Linked DNA regions of Homo sapiens: region 2 is linked to region 1. Evidence: promoter capture Hi-C in 16 types of primary human blood cells and fetal thymus (Javierre and others, 2016). All regions are on one chromosome and are shown on one strand. Each heading gives the region's core, a stretch centred on a gene start or on the middle of the fragment in contact. The rest is flanking DNA. Distances are from core to core; before and after follow the strand shown.

The links. The method cuts DNA at HindIII sites, captures the fragments that hold promoters and counts their contacts. A CHiCAGO score of 5 or more calls a contact.
Region 2: the fragment with the promoter of CXorf65 here is called in contact with a fragment that was not itself captured in region 1 in 4 of 17 cell types (megakaryocytes, M1 macrophages, total B cells and 1 more); the score reaches 9.2 in megakaryocytes.

The regions. Positions count from the first base shown.
Region 1 is chrX:70,998,561-71,004,142 of GRCh38, forward strand. No RefSeq gene overlaps it. Among named protein-coding and RNA genes, the nearest start is that of SNX12, 67 kb to the right of the region's middle. The HindIII fragment of the contact is 397 bases long and covers 1,198-1,594 here.
Region 2 is chrX:71,104,290-71,108,039 of GRCh38, forward strand. CXorf65 (chromosome X open reading frame 65) reads right to left here and starts at 2,451. Exons shown (of 6, transcript NM_001025265.3): 1 at 2,243-2,451; 2 at 2,051-2,137; 3 at 1,711-1,848; 4 at 480-548; 5 at 9-115. The coding sequence starts at 2,267. It overlaps IL2RG (interleukin 2 receptor subunit gamma), which reads right to left. Exons shown (of 8, transcript NM_000206.3): 8 at 3,115-3,632. The coding sequence ends at 3,447. The HindIII fragment of the contact is 6,290 bases long and covers 1-3,750 here.

The DNA of each region.
Region 1 (5,582 bases), core at 146-2,645:
TCATACCCGTCCTTCTTGGGAAACTTTCCAGGTATTCGAAGGGACTTTGGGTGTTGTGATCTAAGTTTTTGGTCACTGTAGTCACATCTACGTTAGGGGGCACCCCAAGCTCAGTAACACTGTGGCTCTTGCAGACTCATTGAGGTACTGCCTTGGTGGTCTTGGATCAGATCCGAAAGAATTCTCTGGATTACCAGACAGAAACTTTTTTTCTCTGCCCTTACTTTTACCCAAACAAACAGAGTCTCTCTCTCTCTCTCTCTTCTCTCTCTCTCTCTCTCTCTCTCTCTGTCTCTGTGCCGAGATGCCTGCAGCTGAGGGAGGGCAGAAATGCTTTTTTAAGTTACCACCCAGTTCTAAAGTTGCACTTTGATTAACTTGGTTATTTCCTATGTTTTCATTAGCAACACAGTTGTAAACCACTTCTCCACATAGTTAATCTCATCTCTTAAATGACAGTTATTATTAAAATTTCAATGAGTAATTCTTTTTCTGAGTTCTTAGTTTCCTATATACTTATTACAGCATTAATCATGTTACCTGACAATACCTACTCACTAATCAATTCCCAGTGAGAATTGTTAGACACTTATATCCAGTAGCAAGAAAGAAAAAAATTAAAATCCTTAAGACAAATAGTTAGGGATATGCTTTCAAATCTGGGATGTACAGTAATTGAAAGTGTGAGCCTCCTTGGCAACTCCCAGAGGACATACATTAACAGTAATCAATCCACTGTGTGGCTTGTTACATAAGTACTATAGAAGCCTTGGGAACATTTGGAATCTGACAGAAGCCTTATGGAAGTGGTTCCATGGGGGTTGGCTATTTGCATATTTTCCTCCTATTACAGATAAGGGAAAAAAGACTGAAAGAATATATACCAAAATGTTAATATTGATTATTCCTGGGGAGTAGGGCTGCCAGTTTTCTTTTATTTTTTATCTGTATTATCTAAAATTTCTAAAATAAATATAACTATTATAAGAAAATTCCAAATAATAAAAGTCCAAAAAGATGGTTTGTTTTAACAGTAAGTAAGCTGAGTTGCATTTTCTACCATCTGTTTCAGTCAGGGAAATGAATAACATCTTCTAGGGCAAAGTAACAGGGTAAATGGAGACCCAGAGAAAGACTGATTGTTCTCTATGATAAGCATTCTCTAGAACATAAAAGGAAGTAATGAACAGGACTCCAAGCTTTGTTCTTTTGTGTCTCACTCCCTCTCGATTCTTCTCTGGCTTTGTTCCACACTCTGAACATCCTAAATCAACTTACAAGTGGTGGTCACCAAAAGAATCTACAAGGAAGATTGTCTCTCTAGACTCTGATTCCATCAAATATCCCCTTTCTCTTCTATTTTCCACATTTTCTTATATACCTACAGACAGGCTTAACGTTTCCCCATTCTAAAACAAAGTTAAAACACTATTTCTCCCCTATCTCGTTACAAACTACCATCCTTTCTACCTCCTTCCTTTCATAGCCAGATTTCTGGAACAATTAATCTACAACCACTGTCCTTTCGCCCTGTCCATTTGTTCAATTTGCTGCAGTCTGCCTTCTGCCGTGACTCCAACAAACTTTAAAGGAAAGCTTCCTAGTTGCTGAACTTATTGGCCCATATTTATACAGCCTAAGGCGATTGGTTGCTCTTATTTCCCAGAAGTTCTTCTTGGCCTCTGGGAAGAAAGGAGTGAAATGGGAAGAAATGACACTACTGTCTCTTCATTTTTTTTTCTTACCTTTCCCTTTCAGACTTCCCTCTTCTGTTCAACACTTATTCATTGGGATTCCCTAGGGTTATGTCCTAGTCTCTTATCTTCTTACACCACCTGGAACAAAGTTTATCTACTTACACAGCTTCAACTATCATCTATACAATGACAGATTGCAAAATTTTTTTTACAGTTAAATCTAAGTTGCTTTATTCTTTTTTTTTTTTATATATATACTTTAAGTTTTAGGGTACATGTGCACAATGTGCAGGTTAGTTACATATGTATACATGTGCCATGCTGGTGTGCTGCACCCATTAACTCGTCATTTAACATTAGGTATATCTCCTAATGCTATCCCTCCCCTCTCCCCCGACCCCACAACAGTCCCCAGAGTGTGATGTTCCCCTTCCTGTGTCCATGTGTTCTCATTGTTCAATTCCCATCTATGAGTGAGAACATGCAGTGTTTGGTTTTTTGTCCTTGCGATAGTTTACTGAGAATGATGATTTCCAATTTCATCCATGGAAATTTTTAATAATAGCCTCGAACTCTTGCTTAAGCTCTAGATTTGTATTTCCAAATTACAATTAAGCATCTTTACCTACAGGTTACAAAGAGGTACCCTAAGCTCCACTAGTCTAAAATCAGACTTACCTTCTCTACTGCCACAATTTACTAAATTCTTGAATTACATTCTCATTCACAATCGCAAGCCATGTTCCTAAGCTAGAAGCTTTTGCTTTTGCCTTAATTATCCCTTCTCCCTAACGCTGCACATCTAATCAATCAGCATACAGTCCTGTTGATTTTAACTCATAAATATCATTCTGTCAAGCCTAGCCTTTCCCCCATACTGCCTCGATCTTGGTTCAGACTCTCATAATGTCCAGCTTGGACTATTACGTCTGCTAAGTAGTCCTGCCACCAATCTCTCTCCATTCTACACCTGTTCAACTTCCACACTACTTTCGAAATGATCTTTACAAAACAAAACTCACTCTTTTGACTCCTCGGTGCCTACAGGATAAAACACAACTCCTTGGTCTAGCATGTTAGGATTCAGTCCAGGTTGTTAGCCTCACGCTCTACTCCACCCCCAAACTCCTGCATGCTAAGCTTCTCACCATTCCACAAACACAGCAGGCCCTATAATGTCTCCATGTCTTCACACATTGTATCCTGTCCTCTTAGAATGTCCTTTTCTTTCTTCCTCACCTGACAATGTCCTACTCATCCTTTAGTATGTGTCTTCTTGGGAAAGACAAACTAGCTATTATTTATCAAGGAGTTTTGCTAAACAATTTATGTTCATTAGCTTATTTTAATCCTCAATCAATTCTATAACTACTATTATCATTTTACAGATGAAAAAGCTGAGATTTAAAGGGGCTAAATAGCATTGTCATCTAGTAAATGGTGGGATTTAAATATAGGTCTTCAAAACCTGAACTTTTAACCACTATGCTACAGGCAATGTGTATTAAACATAGTTGATTGTTCTGTTCTCTGTGTTCCCATAGCACTCTGTTCACCACTCTGCAATGGCAGTTACCACACTAGAATGTAATATTTCTGTTTACACAATATCATCCCCCACTAGATGTAAGATACATGGTGATAGAAATAAAATATTGCAGCCGGGCATGGTGGTGTGTGCCTGTAGTCCCAGCTACTCGGGAGGCTGAGGTGGGAGGACTGCTTGAGCCTAGGAGTTCGAGTCTGTAGTGAGCTATGATGGTGCCCCTGCACTCCAGCCTGGGCAATAAGAGTGAGATTGGTCTCAAAAGAAAGAAAGAGAGGAAGGAAGGAAGGAAGGAAGGAAGGGAGGGAGGGAGGGAGGGAGGGAGGGAGGGAGGGAAGAAAGAAAGAAAGAAAAGAAGGAAGGAAAGAAGGAAGGAAGAAAGAAAGAAAAGAAGGAAGGAAAGAAGGAAGGAAGGAAAAGAAAGAAGAAAGGAAGAAAGAAAGAAAGAAAGAAAAGAAAGACTTAACCAATCTTTGTATCTCAGTGTGTTTAGCACATTATAAGTGCTCAATAAATGTTCACTATATAAATGAATTTTGAAACTTCTCTTTGGCAGTAAGTAGCCTTTTGTTTGTTGCCTTGCTTTTTCTTCTTCTGACTGTGTCTGACATGGTTGGGCTGTGTCCTCATCCAAATCTCATCTTGAATTGTAGTTCCCATAATCCCCATATGTCCTGGGAGAGACCAGGTGGAGATAATTGAATCGGGGGGACGGTTTCCCCCATCCTGTTCTCATGATGGTGAGTGAGTTCTCATGAGATCTGATGGTTTTATAAGGGGCTTTTTCCCACCTTTGCTCTGAACTTCTGCTTGCTGCTACCATGTGAAGAAGGACTTGTTTGCTTCCCCCTCCACTATGATTGTAAGTTTCCTGAGGCCTCCCCAGCCATGCTGAACTGTGAGTCCATTAAACTTTTTTCCTTTATAAATTACCTAGTCTCAGGTATGTCTTTATAAGCAGCATGAGAACGGACTAAGACAGTGTCCTTTCATTATTCATTCAACTATGAGCAGTAAATGCTGGCAATTTTTTAAAATTGTGTTTCAGGCTTTGTTATTATTTATATTGCCTTACTACTTACATAGTAACTTTACTATCTTACATTATTAATATACAGGTTTTTAAGTAATATTACTTAAGTGTGTGTACAAAATTTCTTTTTTTAAGAATGAGTTCATGTCCTTTGCAGGGACATGGATGAAGCTGGAAACCATCATTCTCAGCAAACTAACACAGGAACAGAAAACCAAACACCACATGTTCTCACTCATAAATGGGAGTTGAACAATGAGAACACGTGGACACAGAGAGAGAAACATCACACACCAGGGCCTGTCGGGGGTTAAGGGGCAGGGGGATGGAGAGCATTAAGACAAATACCCAATGCATGTGGGGCTTAAAACCTAGATGATGGGTTGATAGGTGCAGCAAACCACCATGGCACATGTATACCTATGTAAAAAACCTGCACATTCTGCACATGTATCCCAGAACTTAGAGTAAAAAAATTTCTTTTTTTTAATATTTTAACTTTTATTTTAGGTTTGAGGTAGATGTACATATTTGCTATATAGGTAACCTCGTGACTCAAGGGTTTGTCGTACAGATTATTTCATTACCTAGGTAGTAAGCATAGTACCCAAGAGTTGTATTTTTTTTCTAAACCTCTCCATCCTCTCATCCTCCTCCCTCAAGTAGGCCCCAGTGTCTGTTGTTTCCCGCTATGTGTCCATGTGTTCTCATTGTTTAGCTCCTACATATAAGTGAGAACATGCAGTGTTTGGTTTTCTGTTCCTGCCTTAGTTTGCAAAGGATAATGGCCTTCAGCTCCATCCATGTTCCTGCAAAGGACATGATCTTGTTCTTTTTATGGCTGTGTAGTGCTCCATGGTGTATATGTACCACATTTTCTTTGCTTTTTTTTTTTTTTTTTTTGAGATGAAGTCTTACTCTGTTGCCCAGGCTGGAGTGCAATGGCGTGATCTTGGTTCACCGCAAACTCTGCCTCCCAGGTTCCAGTGATTCTCCTGCCTCAGCCTCCTGAGTAGCTGGGATTACAGGCATCTGCCACCATGCCCGGCTAATTTTGTATTTCAGTAGAGACAGGGTTTCACCATGTTGATCAGGCTGGTCTCAAAGTCCTGACCTCAGGTTTATCCAACTGCCTCCACCTCCCAAAGTGCTGGGATTACAGGTGTGAGCCACCGTGCCTGGCCACCACATTTTCTTTATCAAGTCTACCATTGCTGGACATTTAGGTTGATTCCATGTCTTTGCTGTTGTGAATACTGCTGCAGTGAACATACGCATGCATGTGCCTTTATTGTTTTGGGTTATA
Region 2 (3,750 bases), core at 1,201-3,700, 110 kb after region 1:
AGTCTTACCGGGACACTCGCAGGGGGTTCAATTATAACGACCTTCTTGGCTTCTTTCATTTTAAGCATCTGAATTCGTCTCCTCTCCAGGGCATCACATTGTATGCGCAGTGCAACTAAGAACAAGGAAAAGGCACCTGCACCTCTGAGAACTAGAGACCTTACCCTTCCTGATGCTCCCATTCATTGTTCAAACCATCAGCTGGAGCCCCACTTGGCCTAAGATGGAAATGATGGAATGGTGACAGGGAGATATACGGAGAAGATGGCCAAGAAATGGGGGAAGTGGGGAGTAACGCATGCACATTCCACCTGGTGTGAGCTAAACGTCCCTCCTAAAGTGGACCTGGACCCTGCCCGCCTTTTCCTAGGCTCCTATCATCTGACCTACCATATCACGCTAGTCCCACCCTACATTCTCCATCACACAGCTATATACTGTACCCTTCATGTTCTTCCCTCCCCCATCTCACTTCTTACCAAGCAGCCAAGGCTCCGGATTCTTGAGGAGAGGCACAAAAGCTCTGTAAGCATTCTCCAGCCTGGTTCCTGTGAACATAGCCATGTGCTATCTCCAGCCCCTGTCATCCAGTCTCCACCCTTCAGAAGTCCAAGATTCCAGGACCTAACACTAAAGACTACCCGCCAGATGCGGTGGCTCACGCCTGTAATCCCAGCATTTTGGGAGGCCAAGGTGGGCGGATCACTTGAGGTCAGGAGTTCCAGACTAGCCTGGCCAATTCGAGACTAGCCTGGCCAATTTGGTGAAACCCCATCTCTACCAAAAATACAAACAAACAAAAAAAATTAGCTGGGCATGGTGGTGGGCGCCTGTAATCCCAGCTACTCCGGAGGCTGAGGCAGGAGAATCACTTGAACCCAGGAGGCAGAGGTTGCAGTGAGCCAAGATCATGCCACTGTTTCAGCCTGGGTGACAGAGCAAGACTCCATCACAAAAAATAAAATAAATAAATAAATAAAAATAAAGACTACCTTGCCGGGCACAGTGGCTCACGCCTGTAATCCCAGCACTTTGGGAGGCTGAGGTGGGTGGATCACCTGAGGTCAGGAGTTCAAGACCAGCTTGGCCAACATGGTGAAACCCCATCTGCACTAAAAAATTAGTTGGGCCTGGTGGCGGGTGCCTGTAGTCCCAGCTACTCAGGAGGCTAAGACAGGAGAATCGCTTGAACCTGGGAGGCAGAGGTTGCAGTGAGCTGAGATCGCGCCATTGCACTCCAGCCTGGACAACTGGACAACAAGAGCGAAACTCTGTCCCAAAAAAAAAAAAAAAAAAACCTACCTTGAGCTGGTGGATATTTCTTCCCCTTAGGTATGGACCTAGGGGAGAGTATGTGTGAGGTAACCTATTATTATAGAGGCAGTACCCTTCCTTAGGCTGACTAGAGATGGTCAATTTGGATCTGGTTGAGGGTGTTCTGTTGTTTGAGGGTGTTCTGTTTTTTGTTTTAATTTGGTTTTGGTTGTTTTTGGTTTTGGTTTTGGTTTTGGAGGCAGGCTCTTGTTATGTTGCCCAGGCTGGTCTCAAACTCCTGCCCTCTATCGATTCTCCCGCCTTGGCCTCTCAAAGTGCTGAGATTACAAGCATGAGCCACTATGCCCAGCCTTGGATGCCTTGTTTTAAAGATAAGGTTCATAATCTATCTTGAAGGCCTTATTCTATTTCTGGGGAACACTCCTGAGCCTCTACCTGGTGGCCCACGTTCCACCTTACAAACGTAGTAGGTGCTTCGAGCTGTAAGGTATTTGCTGGCATACTCTGCATGATTGGGCTTCATCAGGAAAAGCATCTTCATTTTCCCCGTTTGTTCACACAAATCGATGGTGTCTGGAGGGAGATCACAGGGTAATTGGGGCAGCTAAGGAAAGAGAGTGGGAGCAAAAGGGGCCAGTGATCCTATACAAAATGGGTTGGAGGAAGCTCTAAGGATATGAGGAACTCCCTTCTTGCCAGGAGGAGGGCTTGGGGGTTAGAGATGACCCAACTCCTTCTGACCTTTGGCCATTAGTCCCCTCCCTAAGCTCCTCACTTGTTTTAGGCAACTTTACTTTACTGCGGATGTAATACAGCAACACGACGACAGCACAGTTGGTATTGACCAGAAACTGCTGATTATCTGAGAAGAGATAGGATGGGACACATGGGCCCATTTCTGTGATCTCCACTGCCCTCAGATCCCTCCACCCCCATCCACAGACTCTAGTTCTGTGCTGCCCCTCACCTCCATGTTTGATGAAGATGAACATGCCCTCAAGATCGCCTCACTCTTCACAAAGTGCCCTGATGAGTCATGCAGAAGGAGGGTGTTCTAGAGGCCTTGTGTGGGGCAAATAGGCCTATAGGGTTGGTGGACTAGAGAGGCAGATGGATTTCATAGGCTGAGGATGCCCAGGCTGGACAGGCAGGAGAGAGCTGTTGATAGTTGTGGATAACCAGTATCCCCAGGGGTGGGGCCTGAGACTGCAGTTAAGGGATTATGAGGTCAGAAGTGGCAGGTGTGGCCAAAAAGTGGAGTAAGGGTAAGGAGAGAAAAACTTGGGTGGGGTATGTTAAAGATTAGTTGGAAAGGGGGGACAACATGGTAAGTCTAACTTTTTTTATTTTTTTTATTTTTTTAGATGGAGTCTCCCTCTGTCGCCCAGGCTGGAGTGCAGTGGCACAATCTTGGCTCACTGCATCCTCTACCTCCTGGGTTCAAGCGATTCTCCTGCCTCAGCCTCCCAAGTAGCTGGAATTACAGGAGCACACCATCACGCCTGGCTAATTTTTGTATTTTTAGTAGAGACGGGGTTTCACCATGTTGGCCAGGCTGGTCTCGATCTCCTGACCTCGTGATCCACCCGCTTTGGCCTCCCAAAGTGCTGGGATTACAGGCGTGAGCCACCACGCCCAGCCCATTGTAAGTCTAACTCTAAACTAAACCCTGGAATGAGTGCAGGGCACCTGGAAAAAAGTCAGTTTCCAGAACAGTACTCTTTCTAGCAAATTGGTAATACTCCTGCCTCCACAGCATGAATGTACTACTCCTTTTTCTTCCCCTCCCACCCTCATTGCATCCCAGGCTTCCCCTGCTCCCCACCCCCATGACAGACATTTTTGATGATTATCAACAGAAACTTTATTTCTCATCGGTTCAGGAACAATCGGAGGGTAGATGGAAAGAGGAAGGGAGGGAAAGAGGGAGGGAGGAAGAATCCTGCGAAAAGGAAGGGCCAGACTGAGGGAGAAGAAAAACATGTTCGGGGCAAAAGGGTAATTCTCAAGTGGGGAATGCCAAATGAAGGGGTGCTTACATGGGGGCACAAAATTCCAAATCAGCCACAGTGGGGTGAGGTGAGTATGAGACGCAGGTGGGTTGAATGAAGGAAAGTTAGTACCACTTAGGGCTACAGGACCCTGGGGTTCTTCTGTCAGAGGATTGGGGTTCAGGTTTCAGGCTTTAGGGTGTAACATGGGGGGGCCCAGTAGGGGCTATGCTGGTTGCATGGGGAGGCCCCAGGCCCCTCCCCAAGGGCCCCTCCTTTTGGGGGAATCTCACTGACGAGGCAGAGTCGTTCACTGTAGTCTGGCTGCAGACTCTCAGCCAGTCCCTTAGACACACCACTCCAGGCCTAAAGACAGATATGTCCAGGTCAGGGGTCAATTAGGGGCAGGAAGTAAAAGACCGAGCTCTGTGCCAAAGGAGTACTCATGATGTCTGCAACCACTGTAATTGATTACAGAAGGGAT